Regions from separate parts of the Homo sapiens genome. Here regions 1 and 3 are each linked to region 2. Evidence: promoter capture Hi-C in 16 types of primary human blood cells and fetal thymus (Javierre and others, 2016). All regions are on one chromosome and are shown on one strand. The core of a region is centred on a gene start or on the middle of the fragment in contact, and the rest is flanking DNA. Distances in the headings are between cores, read along the strand shown. Region 1 holds the start of LCE2C (late cornified envelope 2C). Region 2 holds the start of SPRR5 (small proline rich protein 5). Region 3 has its middle 12 kb from the start of PRR9.

The links. The method cuts DNA at HindIII sites, captures the fragments that hold promoters and counts their contacts. A CHiCAGO score of 5 or more calls a contact.
Region 1: the fragment with the promoter of LCE2C here is called in contact with the fragment with the promoter of SPRR5 in region 2 in 5 of 17 cell types (M0 macrophages, total CD4 T cells, erythroblasts and 2 more); the score reaches 11.0 in M0 macrophages.
Region 3: a contact is called between a fragment that was not itself captured here and the fragment with the promoter of SPRR5 in region 2, in 1 of 17 cell types (erythroblasts). The highest score is 8.0, in erythroblasts.

Annotation. Positions count from the first base shown.
Region 1 is chr1:152,673,954-152,678,321 of GRCh38, forward strand. It overlaps LCE2C (late cornified envelope 2C), which reads left to right and starts at 1,326. Exons shown (of 2, transcript NM_178429.5): 1 at 1,326-1,375; 2 at 2,042-2,616. The coding sequence starts at 2,063. The coding sequence ends at 2,395. The HindIII fragment of the contact is 8,836 bases long and covers 1-4,368 here.
Region 2 is chr1:152,945,772-152,950,698 of GRCh38, forward strand. It overlaps SPRR5 (small proline rich protein 5), which reads left to right and starts at 1,435. Exons shown (of 2, transcript NM_001395435.1): 1 at 1,435-1,477; 2 at 2,766-3,484. The coding sequence starts at 2,784. The coding sequence ends at 3,110. LINC01527 (long intergenic non-protein coding RNA 1527) reads right to left here and starts at 3,439. Exons shown (of 2, transcript NR_183723.1): 1 at 3,215-3,439. The HindIII fragment of the contact is 11,414 bases long and covers 1-4,927 here.
Region 3 is chr1:153,227,578-153,231,943 of GRCh38, forward strand. No RefSeq gene overlaps it. Among named protein-coding and RNA genes, the nearest start is that of PRR9, 12 kb to the left of the region's middle. The HindIII fragment of the contact is 1,275 bases long and covers 1,363-2,637 here.

The sequences.
Region 1 (4,368 bases), core at 76-2,575, 270 kb before region 2:
CTAAAGCCTCATCCCCTTTCTATTTCCAGAGATTTGCCTACTCTACACATTTCATATAAATAACATCATACAATATGCAGTCTTTTGTGACTGGCTTCTTTCACGTAGTGTAATGTTTTCAAGGTTCACACTCAATGTATCTGTTTAAACTAAATGAATAAATGACTGGGTAACTCTGTCTAGTGCAACCCTGAATCAGAACTCTGAATAACTAGATTCCTGGCTGACCCTCTACTTCCTGGTAGGAAAGGAGTTCCCTCTGCATAGGAGCCCCAAGAAATGATGTCTACTTCCCAAGACAGGTTTCAAATAATCTAAGTGTCTGGTGGAGTTAAGCTCTCTGAGGGTAAGGGCTCTATATGGGCAATTAATGACACATAAGACCGGGGCAAGTATCCAATACATGGCATTAGTTTTTCTATTAAACATATATTTATTAAGGGTCTATCAGGCACAAAATGTCATACTTAGCTCTTTCTTGCTTCTCACTTTATATTACAAACAGCTCAGTGAGATAGGTATATCTCACTGATAGGTTTATAATGGGCATTATATGTGAGAACTGATACTCACAGTGAGTATCATAGTAATACTCTAGCAATTATTGATAATTGTTACAGCAACTTTCAGAGATTACCCAGTTATCATATGCAAGTTTTCTGATTCCAGTAGCACATTCAATACAAGTCCTCTGACTGAAGGAAATGTTTAGATTTTAGAGGGAATTGTTTATTCTCAATCATTCTCCTTGCTTTAGGTGACAGAATCAACTCAGATTTAATCCACCGAATCTGCTTGCCATGGTGAGTCGGAGGAAAAGCAGAAACACAGAGGCCAGGAGGAAGGGCTGAGAGCCTAGGCAAGGGAGGGATGCCTAGAAAAAGCCAAGGCTGTAGAAGCCCTCTGGGATGGCTGGATCCACAGCAGGACATGGAAGAGAAACTGCTCAGGGTGGAGGGAGTCATAATGGAACATTTCCACAAGGTCAGGGAAAGCTGTGGCTCAGAACTGATGTTTCCTCAGAGGACATGCATTAAAAAAATGCAGGGAACAGAATCTTGTCCAGGTGTGGGTCCCTTGGGTACCCTAAGTTAACTCTTTAGGGTTCCCACCTGGTGGAGGCTCTGACTGGCTACAGCCTCTCTAGACTGCAGCCCCAGAGAGGAGTCCTGGAAGCTCCTGAGGCCTCTTTGGATTGCAGGGACTAAGAGGCAGGAGAATGTCAGGAATGACCCAGCGTGTGCCTGGTTGTGCAAGAGCCACCTCCTGCTCTTTCCAGAGCCAAGCCTGGGCCCTATAAAAGACACATCCAGCTTCAGCATCTCATCTGCTCTGACTCCCCAGGGACGTGTCTGTGCTCCTGCGTGTGACCAGGGTGAGTGGCAACCTGGGATACCAGAGGGGTATGAGCAAGGCAGAGGGATGGGGAGGATGGAGGTAGGCTGGAGAAAGAGTTGTGTGCTTGTGTTCTGCCATACTGAGCAGGAATGGGACTCAGCCTGCCTCGAATCTGTTGAGGCTCTGAGGCCTACCGGAGCTCATATAGGTGGGGAAAGCTAACTGTGCACATCTTTTCCAATTCTGTGTTCAGTGACTTCATGTTGGTAACTTCAAAACTGCTGTGTTGGGCATATTTACACCATGGAAACTGGCAAATACTTCAAGCCAGGCTCTTTTATCTGGAGGTTTCATTGCAAAATATTTTCCAGAGGACCCCTTGGTATGTCCTGCAACACCCAGCTTGTCCTTAGGGCTTGTATTAAAGGAATAGGTACTTCAGGGAGCTGTGAATACTCTATTCGGGCTTGTGAGGATAGAGCAATCGCAGTTTCCCCTGAAAGGAAGAGTAAGAAGCTCATTCTGTTGATTTTTTATCTACGTACTTTTATCTAGAGGAAAGATTCAAGTTGTTTCTTTCAGGTTACTGATGTGATTGTATTATCTAAATATCATTCTTCTTCTACACATGCATTGATTTTAGAAGAGGTATAATATGATCCTTGGTTTGAAATATTTAAAGAGTTTCATTATTATCTTTCAGGTTGACTAAACTCCTGCCAGCATGTCTTGCCAGCAAAACCAGCAGCAGTGCCAGCCCCCTCCCAAGTGTCCTCCCAAGTGTACCCCAAAATGTCCACCTAAGTGTCCCCCCAAATGCCCACCACAGTGCCCAGCTCCATGTTTCCCTGCAGTCTCTTCTTGCTGTGGTCCCAGCTCTGGGAGCTGCTGTGGTCCCAGCTCTGGGGGCTGCTGCAGCTCTGGGGCTGGTGGCTGCTCCCTGAGCCACCACAGGCCCCGTCTCTTCCACCGGCGCCGGCACCAGAGCCCCGACTGCTGTGAGAGTGAACCTTCTGGGGGCTCTGGCTGCTGCCACAGCTCTGGGGGCTGCTGCTGACCTGGGCTACAGAAGAGCTCTTGGGACTGAATGGCCAAGAACCTGCTACGGCCTGATGGATACTCTTTCCACTTCCTCTCATTCCATTCATTGGTTGGCAGAGACCACAAAGACTCATGGGGCTTTCCTGGAAGAACTTCGTGCTTGATGTAACACCCCAATTGCAAGTCTTCTTTTCCTCCTTTACCTCATGTTATAATAAAGCTCTGATCTCTGACTCACTAAATGTCTTGGTCATTCTCTTCTCTTCTGAGATTTCAAATGTCCTCCAAAGGTCAGGGCCTCAGAGTAATTTTCTTCATGAGGCTAGGACAGGACATGAGTAGGTGATACATGAAAAGCTGCTCTGAGGAACTGATTCCCCCAGATGCTGAGTGAATGGAGCTCCAAGAGGGTCACCTCTGGCTATGGTAGCTTTGCCTTTCTCTCCACTAAGCCAGACACATGTTCTAATTTTCTGTGTAATCCAGACGTTGGGAAGGTTGGGAAGCTCTGCAGACTTGTTCTTCTCTAGGGAGAAGAACACATCCCTATGAAGCAAAACTTTCCTGCCCTTAGAATCAATAGTTGGATAAAATGCTTGAAACAGATGTTGAGACCCTTCCTCCTGTAAAGTACAGCCCATGGTCACTCAGCTTCTTTTCATGAGTCTGGTTAAGATCAGCCTTTTGACTTGCTGCCTTGGACACCTGGCTTCAGTTCCTCACAGTGTTAGATCTGAGTCCCAGGATGCTGTCCTGCCACTTGGCTCACGTGCTGGGCAGGGGAGTGATGAGTGATGGAGATATTAAGTGAAAAAACATGGAAGTGTTGCTTAGAAGATACAAAGAATATAAGGAACATAAGAATACAAAGAATACAAAACGCTGTATGAAAGAATAGACCTTTCCTCCTTCAATACTTATCTTTTTTGCCAAGCCACCCTCAGAATGTGAGGGGGGAGAAGCGCCAGGATGGGTGGGGCATCTTAAGTATTACTAGAGGAAGGGGAGGGAAGCAGGGACACAGCAGGGGAAACAAGGGCTAGTGCTTCTTAGGTTCAGGCTGACAGGTGTCGACATGAAGATAATGGATTCAGCAAAGACGGATTTTGACAGAGATGGAGCCTCTTATTAATATGTTTACCTTCTTACTTACCCTTAGTGCCACTAAGACAAAAACCCAGCTGATTAACCAGTTTGAGATTCTGTACTGTCTGCATTTTAAATCACCCTCTGCACTGAGTCAGTTTATTTGACTCAATGCTCTTTATTATTTTGCCAGTCTCATTATTAACTAATTTTCAAGTCCCTGACCAGTAGTAATTTTGAGCTTCCATAAATATGTACATTGGCTATTTCTACAAAATTTGTAATAGGATTTTAAATTTTCTTTTCAATTTTCAAGAGCTCTTGATATATCATGGATATTAACCTTGATCTGTCTTTATTAAAATATTTAATACATCATAATTAATTGACTCTGTTTATAATAACTTTTGCTATGGAAATATTTGTAGTTTTTAAATACTCAAATATGACTTTCTTTGCTTTCATAGCTTCAGGGTTTCCTGAGTTGGTTAAGAAGTTTTTCCTTGTCCTTAGTGTTTACATGTCAGCAAACAAAACAAATAAAAAAACCCAAACAGTATAAAATGGAACACCAAGCGGGGGACCTAAGGTTGCCTGGGGCAGGTGAAGGCTGGCCTGCGGAGGGGTGGACACCCGAGTATGCTTTCAGGGACCTCTGCCTTAAGTAAGAGCAACTCACCGGCCCTTTCCTTCTCCAGTGGGCCTGCTATCTGGGGCTCCATGTGCTCCTTTCATGGTGAACATAATCCTTTCCTTATCTAAACTTCCATACACAGAATAATTTCCAATCTGACTATTGGTTTTTACTTGCATCTTATCTTATGTTTGGCATGTGTGCATGTGTGTTAGAAATTAAGTTCTGCTACTATCACAGGAACTCAAAATCACAGCAATTTAAAGAGG
Region 2 (4,927 bases), core at 185-2,684:
AAATCAAGCTATTTAATACATGTATTACCTCACATATGTATCATTTTTGTGTGGCGAAAACACTTAAAATCTACTCATTTAGCAATTTTCATGTCACATATTGTTATTAACTATAGTCAACATGACTTCCAGTGGATTCCTTGAACTTATTCCTCCTGTCTCTTTCAACCAAGAGCTTATGACACTGGGTGGCAAGTGCCACTACTTGCCTCCAACTTTTTTCAACTTCCTATTCCATATTTCTAAGAGTGTGTCTTGCCCTAGTATTCAAAGCCCATCTCCATGGAGCACCCAACGACTGTTGACCATGCATTTTGTGCCAAACACTTGCACATACTTTAAATAAGTTGTCCATTTTAATCCTTACAACTGACATGCAGAATGGTGCTGTTACCCTCTTTAGCAGGTGAGAAAATTGAAGTGCAAAAACATCTGGTTCCTAAGGTCACCCAACTGGTAAAAGGCAGAGCCTCAGTCTGAGCACCACTTGGGAATTTTTTAAAGATGAGCTCCATCCTTTGCCAGGTATGGGAAGCATCCAAGTCTGTATCCCGTGCCACCCTTCTTTGTCCTGGAACTTCTAACAGAAGTTAGGAGGAAGAGCCAGGACTGGGGCCCCAGGAGCTCAGAACCCAGAATCCAGTCACTGTGACTCCTCCATGAGCTCACTCTAATGCAATGCTTCTTAGCTTCCCCCACCCCCTCCACCTTATGATAATCATTTCCCTGGGAACCCTGGAGTCATATGGATATGTGATATATGTAGGGAGATTTAGAGATAAGCACTATCTACTGTAACCAACCAGTTTCCCCGAATGGGGCCTAACGATTTTCCCAATAGCAGAACAGACAGAGAGTGGCAGCTGCCATTTCTTGTATAAATAACAATAGGTAAAAAATGAAAGCCTCTTGTCTTGTCTTCCCACCAGTTCAAGCTGAATGTGACTCTGAGCCTAGGTCAAGTCAAAGTCACAACTTTGCTGAGGGTGGTGGGTTTCCAAGAGAGCCATCTGCCCCCTCAGCTGTTTTCTTATGTTACCTGCATAAGCTGCCTGTCCCATCCCCTCCTCTCTGCCAACCAGAACATCCCAGAACACTGCCCTCACACCCCCACACCCAGCATGGTCGGAATGCTTGCTTGGGACCATCCTAGATGCCAGGGATCTAAGTCAAAAGTCATGAGTGGGTTTGGAAATCCAAGGAAGCCAGTCCTCGTAAAATGATGGGGAGATGAGGCAAGGGGAGGGTGAAGGCACTGTCATCTCCAAATCCCGCCATACCAGCCCTGGGGGTGAGTAAAACTTAAAATTTGAGGAAGGACAGGTGGATCCTATTGTGACTAGGGACTAATTAGGACACCCCAATCCTGGGCCACCTCATGGCCTCAGGCAGGGATGAGAGGTATATAAAAGGTAGATAGGCTCAGAGCATCCCAAACCCCTCCACACCTATCTGCTCCAGTCGCTGGTGAACCTTGGTAAGTCTGGAAAGGTAGTACCTCTTATAGCAGCCTTGCCTTGCCTGCATCCCTAACCAACTATGGACTGGGCTGATTCTCTGGGTGGTGGTCAGAAAGGATGGGTCTTTTGGGGTACCTCTTTTTTCCATATCATTTGTGACAAACCTATCTTGGGTCCAGCAAGTTATCCAGCAGAGTAGTGTGGGAGGCTGGGCTGAGCAGGGAGAAGGAGGGGGGTATCTACAAGAGGGTCAGTATCTCAGCGATGCTGCTGGCATGGTGTGGGTGTTGCATCTTGTCAGGTGCTAAGAGGGAATTAGTAGGAGAGGAGAGACCAGTTCTGGGCAGAGCAACTGGAAGGACTGTCCTTTCAAAGAAAAGAGAAGGCAGGAAGGAAAGAGAACAGACTCCCTTGGGACAGCAGAGTTGTGGATGTCCATGGAGCAAAGGGCTGCAGGGACAAGACGATGTGGCACCATGGAAGGCTCTGCTCTGGGAATCAGGAGACCTCTTTTCCCACCATCTATGCCGAGTGGCTTTGAAGCCATTCCTTCCCTCTGAGGTTTGCTTTCCTCAACTGTAATTGAGAGAGGCAAGCTAGATAGTCCATTTCATCTATCTCTAGAGTTTTCTCTTTATAAACTCCTTTAGAGAGTGGTTAAGATGCGCCTTTTAAATTGTTTATGAATTTACTTAACAAATTACAACTCTTATATAGTGTTCATTTTGTGCTACTACTCTGCATGTGTGTGTCGGTACATACATACCTACGTATGCATGCATATTTTAAGTATGTATTTTATATACTCATTTAATTTTTGCACCAACTCTAAGAGAGGTAAGTATGGAAAACCTTAGTTGCTCAAAATCATATAGTTAATAAATGATTTAGCCAGAACTCAGATCCCAGGCAATTTATTCCAGATGCCACAGGTTTTGCTATAATAGGATACAACAGTCTGCTCTTTCATTCTTCCTCTTTTTTTTCCTCTCTCTCCCTTTTCTTTTTTTATGTTTTTCTTTCTTTTCAACCCCTCCTAACATTTCTGTTTTCCCTCCCTTCCTCCTTTCCTATCTTTCCTTCCTTCCATGTTTCTTTGTCTTGAAAAGAGTTGAAATAACTTGTAAACACTTAAAGTTTACACATGCGCGCGCGCACACACACACACACACTCCTCTTAAATCTGTGAAGGGATCAGGGCAAGGTAAAAGCAGAGCAGGACAGGAATGTGGCAGGGGGTTCACCTGGGCTTAGGGTCTCTCTATGGCTCAAGTGTTCCTCATTTCTGTGTCTTTCTGTTTCCAGTTGCAAGTCCAGCCCAGAATGTCTCAGCAGAAGCAGAAGCAGTGTGCTCCCCCGCAGCAGTGCTGCCCCCCACCCCAGCAGCGCTGCCCCCCACCCCAGCAGTGCTGCCCCCCGCCTCAACAGTGCTGCCCCCCACCCCAGCAGTGCTGCCCGCCGCCTCAACAATGCTGCCCCCCTCCCCAGCAGTGCTGTCCCCCACCCCAGCAGTGCTGCCCTCCACCTCAGCAGTACTGCCCCCCACCCCAACAGACCAAGCAGCCTTGCCAGCCCCCACCCAAGTGCCAGGAGCCCTGTGCCCCCAAGTGCCCACCCCCTCAGCAGTGCCAGACGTCCAAGCAGAAGTAAGCCCTGGGCATGTGATCAGAGGCGAACCCCCAGGAAAAACAGAGCATGAAGTTCCTTCTGGGCCAGCATCTTACACTCCACAGGCCAAGCAAAGCCCTGCTCACCAGTGCTTCTGGATGCAGCCACACTTCACACTTGCAGGAGAGGCAGCACCAGGCTGGCAGCTGGCGGCTTCCTCGAGCTCTACTCTTCTTAATTAGCAGCTGCAGTTTCCATCTCAGACAAGGATCTGGTTCTAAACTATCTAATCATCTTTCCTGACATGCATCTACATTGCCCTGCTGGAAACATGAGCGGCATGCACAGGCATCTTCTCCTACCACGCTTCCCCTCAGCTCCTGTTTTCAAACAATTAAAACAGAATTCCTCTGGCATGAATGTCTTGGTCTGATGATTTTGTTGTTTGAAAATGTAGCATTTCTGCAGTTTTTTTTTTTTTTTTTTTTTTTTGACGGAGTCTCGCTCTGTTGCCCAGGCTGGAGTGCAGTGGCGCGATCTCGGCTCACTGCTATCTCCGCCTCCCGGGTTCACGCCATTCTCCTGCCTCAGCCTCCCAAGTAGCTGGGACTACAGGCGCCCACCACCACGCCCAGCTAATTTTTTTGTATTTTTAGTAGAGACGGGGTTGCACTGTGTTAGCCGGGATGGTCTCGATCTCCTGACCTCGTGATCCGCCTGCCTCGGCCTCCCAAAGTGCTGGGATTACAGGCGTGAATCACCGCGCCCCACCGCATTTCTGCAGATTTTTTTATCCTGCCCCCAACCCAAAACTTAAGCAGAGCCAAGTGTGGGATGCAGGTGCAGGAGAAGGCACGGGGAGGAGCCTTCTGAGATGCCCAGACATTTACAAGGCTCGTACCAGGAAAAGAGGTGGGGACTTCTGCAACACAGACGCACACCACATTCACAGAAAATGAAGATGCAGGAAAGAACCACGGGGAGACAGTGCTCACCCAGAGAACATGTGCAAGGAAAAGCATTCTCCTAGGCCCAGACAGAGCAACAGAGCCTGCCAAAAAGACCTGCGCAGTAGAGGAAAAGGATTGAGGGAGGTAAGTTCTAACTCAGAGAGCACACTCTAAGGGCTGAAAAGAGTTGAGATAAGGCCTTAAAAATTCTCCCATAGGTAAAAGAAAAAGCCAAAGTTTCTTCAAGCTAATCAAGTATGTAATTAGGAGACAGTCTATGCAAACACTGCATACCCAACACACACACCCGACAGTAAATATTTGATCAAAATATCAGCTCCCATTATTTCTGTTTGGGGATTCTCTTGAACAATTTCCCCCCACTGCCATCCTGCTTTCAATTCTCTAAATTACTGGGGGATTGAAGTGACCAAATAATGCAGACCCACAGGGAATCCAAACTTCTGGTTTCTGCTATTTCAAATACCCTCTCCCAAGTTTCTCCACTAGACCCCTCTCTTACAAAATAGTCCACAGATTGATATATTAGAATCTCCTCCTATACCTGCCTCCCCTTTCATGCCTCTGGGCACCAGGGAAGCCACTGAGAACCAGCAGAAGTACGCAAACAAAGCCAGAGAAGACAATAATATAAACTAAAAATCTAGATTATCCCAACATATGTTACAGACACTGGAGAATGCAAAGTTAAAAACCAAAACTTTTACCATTGCTTCCCAGACGGGTGTGCTCTTCTTCCTCCATCATACCTCTTTCTGCGCCTTTCAGGTCTCATCTATTCATCCATCCATCCATCCATTTATCCATCATCCACCATGCATCAATGGACCCCTATTAAGCACCCTCTCTTGTTTGCTCATAATGTGGTGGACACTATGAAGATACACA
Region 3 (4,366 bases), core at 750-3,249, 280 kb after region 2:
TCTATACTGGGTATTGGGTATGCAATGATAAATAAGCAAACACAGTCCCTGCACTCAGAGCATATGAGCTAGTAAAAGAGGCAATCAATATAAGAAATACACAAAAATAAATACATAATTCTAAATTTTGTTACATTCAACAAAAGAAAGTTCTAGGTTATATAAAATAATGAATTGGAGAACCTAATTTAGATTAGAGATCAGGAAAATCTTCCATGAGAAAATAAAATTTAATCTGAAACTGGAGAGGTAGGAGGAGTTGTCCAGGTGACAAAAAGAAAAAAATTATAGTGAAAACAAAAGATGGTTCTGATATAGGAAAAGCCTGATTGTTGTCTCAGACACAAAGATAGAGAGTGAGAGGGACTGTGTCCCCAGACAGGGACAGGAGGTGTGTGGGCAGGAGCAGACCCCACAAGCCTCTGAGACCACGTGACAGGTTTTGACTTTTGCCCTAAGAGTGAAGCATTAAAGATTTTTAAGCAGAGAGTGACAAGATTCAATTTGCAGATTGTAAATATTGCTCTAGTTAAAGTGTGGAGAATGGATTAGAGGAAGCAAGCAAGAGGTGAAGCGGGAGCCACTGGGGACACCATGGCTATAGCCAAGTCTCTGTGCAGCAGCAGCCACCATTTCCAGAAGCAGCTGGGAAAGACTGAAGGAGGAACAGGTTTGGGTGCAGTCCAGGTAAGAAGACCAGGGGCTCAGTTTTGAACCTGTCAATTTTGAGACGCATACAGAATAACCAAGCAGAAATACAAAGTAAGCACTTACATCTATGAGTCAGGAGCGCGGGAAAAATTCAGGAATGGAGATCTACACTTGGGAGCCATCATCGTAGGGGTAGCATTCTAGCTTTGGGGTGTATAGATCATCCAGTGACAGAATATAGATTAAGAAAAGAAGGGAACTTAAGACCATGCCCTGAGAAACCTCAACAGCTAAAGGTTGAGAAGAGAGAGAGCCCTTGGCAAAAGATTAAGAAGGAGTCAATGATTTAAGAGAAAAGTCAGGAAGGAGAGAGTGTGCAAAATGCTGAATGCCACTGAGGATCAGGAAGTGCCCACACTGAGTGACAACATGGAGAGCAGGCATGGGGGTGGGAGGGTCCAGCCAGGCTGGTCACCCAGGGATTGCTCAAATACTGGAACCTCTTCCCACTCACTTCTCTTCTTCTAAGGCACAGTGGTTTGCCATTAGATCCTGGTACATGGGAATAAGTGAGTGAATGAATGATAAATGATCTGAGGACCCAAAAGGTTTAACAGCTTGACCAAGATTATCCGGCCAGTAAGTATCAATGCCAGAGCTGAAACCCAGCTCATCTGATTCCAATGCCCATATTCTTGGTTTAAAAATACAAGCTTTAACCCAGGGGAAATACCTTTGATGACACACTCTCTGTCATGTTTAATATCATACTTTAAGGACTATTATACTTATCTCTAAAACTGAATCTATGGCTTAGGAGTTCATCAAAAACTAGGGTAGGGAGTGAGAGGCATCCCCTAAGGTCGCCTATCCAGGGGATAATGCATGAAGGAATAACCTTTACACTAAATGAATGTATAGTTTGGGTTACATCCTTGAGACCCTGTCTCAACTGACGAGCATGTGAGAGTCTGGCCACTCGCCCTGTAGGGCCAGCTCAGAGGGGAGCTTGGTGTTCTGGAGTTGTCGGTCAGGGGTGATGGTGGTGACTGTGGTATCGTGGGGGCCACCACCGCCATTCATGGTTGAAAGAAAAGAGGTGGTCAGCTGGCAGGGCCTTCTCAACTCAACCTCCCTCATCACCCGGTTCCCAAGCCAGCCTCATAACCAGTCCTCCCTCCTTTAGAAGCCGCTGGGGACCCCTTTTCTCTTCTCTTCCCAACAGCACCACCTGCTGGCCATAGAGGCACTTGGCCTTCTACTAATCACACCCAGTCTGGCCTGAGTTGGAGATGGCCGCACACACTCGGGTCCAGTCAATGCTCCATGTGGAGAAGACAAGAGTACAGAGATGCAGCATCTAACAGAGTCAGAGGAAGGCTATATGTGCAAGACAGAGTTACATTACTTATAGGGTGGGAGCAACACGAATAATGGTTCAGGACATAGGCTCAGGAATCAGACTTCTGGAATTCAAATCTAGACTCCACCACTTCTATTGTTCCCTTAAAACAAATTTCTCCTATGTGAGAGTAAGTGACACAGAATCTCCTATGAGCCAAGCACTGGAGTTACAGCAGCGAACCAGATACACAGAATCCCTGCCTCCCAGAGCTCACATGAGGAGGAAGACAGACAAAAAGCAACTCAGCAAATGCATAAATAAGAAATTGAAGAAAATGAAACAAAATGACCAGGGAAGAGGGGTGCTCTTTAGCTCGGGTAATGTGGAAAGGCCGATCTGAGGTGAGAGCAACAGAAATGATGGGTTACATGATGGTGGCAATGGCAGCGTGCTGGAGGTGAGAGGAAATCTGAGGGAACATTTTCTTGAATGTGAATTGACTGACAAAAGTGTCACTGAACACATTACCTTTGATTCCTAAATAGCCAGAATGACAAAGCCTATCTGTAGATTACTCATTGTGTTCTCATTCATTTATTTTTTCATTCAACAAATCTTTGTTGAGTAGCTACTGTATGCCAAGCTTTCCTTTAGGTGCTGGAGATGTAGCAGTAAACAGACCAAAAGTGCTGTTTTTGTGGAGTTTACACTTAGAGGACACCAAAAGCTCATTTATCCATTCACTGAGCTCCTGCTGAGCACCTAATGCCAAGCATGATGCCAGACACTGATGGGTCCCAGACCCTAAACAATAGGGCTATCTTGGGGTGGGCACATTGTGGCCAGGGTGAATATGCACCTGCATCTGTTTAGGTTTGTTCACAGGCATAAACACACACCTGCCTGAGCATGTATCCCATCAAACCTCAGACAACATGTATATACTGTTCAGATGTTTTTCAAAATGCATCGGGAAGACCCCGAAGGGGTCTCAGTAGAGGCTTTTTATTTGATTCAAAGCTTCAAAAGATTATTCCATCTGCAAAATGTATAAAGGCTGGATGTTGGAGGAAGCATGAAATAGGGAGAGGAAGGACCTGCTACTAGAGTTATGGCTAAAGGTGGTAGATGGCAGCAGTGGAGACAAAGACAAGAGGGTGACGCTAAGTGTTTTGGAGGAATAACTAACAGGAGTAGCAGGGGGACTCAATGTGTGGGGTAAAGGAGGAGAAAGAAGGCAGAAATACTCCCAAGTTTATGGCTTAGGCCACTAGGTGGATGCAGAGAGGTGAGGACTAGGAGATATGTGGGTACATGTCTGAAGCTCAGAGATATCTGGGCCAAAAATGTACATATTTGAGAGCTGTCATCACATAGAAGGTATTTAAAGATATGTGAGTGGCTGAGATCACCCAAGGAGAAGAAGAGAGGGCCCTACCGAGCTGAGGACTCCACAAGATCTCAAGGTTGGACAGCGCAGAAGGAGCCTGTACAGCCAGCTGACAAAGAGCGGTCAGTGAAGGAAGAGAAACTAGGAGGGTGGAGACTGGAAAGACAAGAGAAGACAGGTGTCCAAGAAAGGAAGGAAAATCAATGGAGTCAACCAATACTAACTGGTCAAGAAATGCAGAGTGGCTGGTGACCTTGATGAGGACAGCCTGAGTGGGGACACAGAGGCCAGAACAGAACAGAGTGGACTGAGGAGCAAAGGGAGGTACCAAGCAGGGCAGTCTGTGGGGTTCCTGGATGCAGCTGGATTGGTTTGCTGCTCAAAGAAAATCCCAGCTCAGACCTACTCTAGGACAGAAGAGGCCTTCATGAAAGATGCCTGGCTGCAGGTGTCCAGGTGTGGGAAGGTGAGTGGGAGGAGGCAGGACTGAGCAGCACTTCCCCAAACCAGGAGGGAAGCCAACACCGAAGCCCAGGCTTCCATTTATAGAGTTTCCACAAGTGGACCCGGACTACTCCACCCTGTTCACAAAGCAACCTCGCCTGAACCTTTGACACCAGAGGCTGAGTCAGGCCCAGATGGCAAACACACTTTAAGCCCTAATCAGACTTTGCATGGGTTTACTCAGCCCATGCCTGCTTCTCTGCCCCTACCATGTCCTCCTAGAAGAGGGAGCACCTCTTCCCCGTCACCCCCCAGAGACTCACCTGCATGAGGTTCACACACTGCACTCTCTCACACCATATACCACACACACACACGCACACACATACATACACAAAGTCAGTGTGATGATTCCAGATGCTGGAACCATGCCTCCCCTTGCCCTTTGCCAAATGCCTGCCATGCTGGCCACAGAGGCAGAAGGAAAATGACAATTCTGCCCTTTTGTAATGCATGCTACTATTTTTGTCCATCAC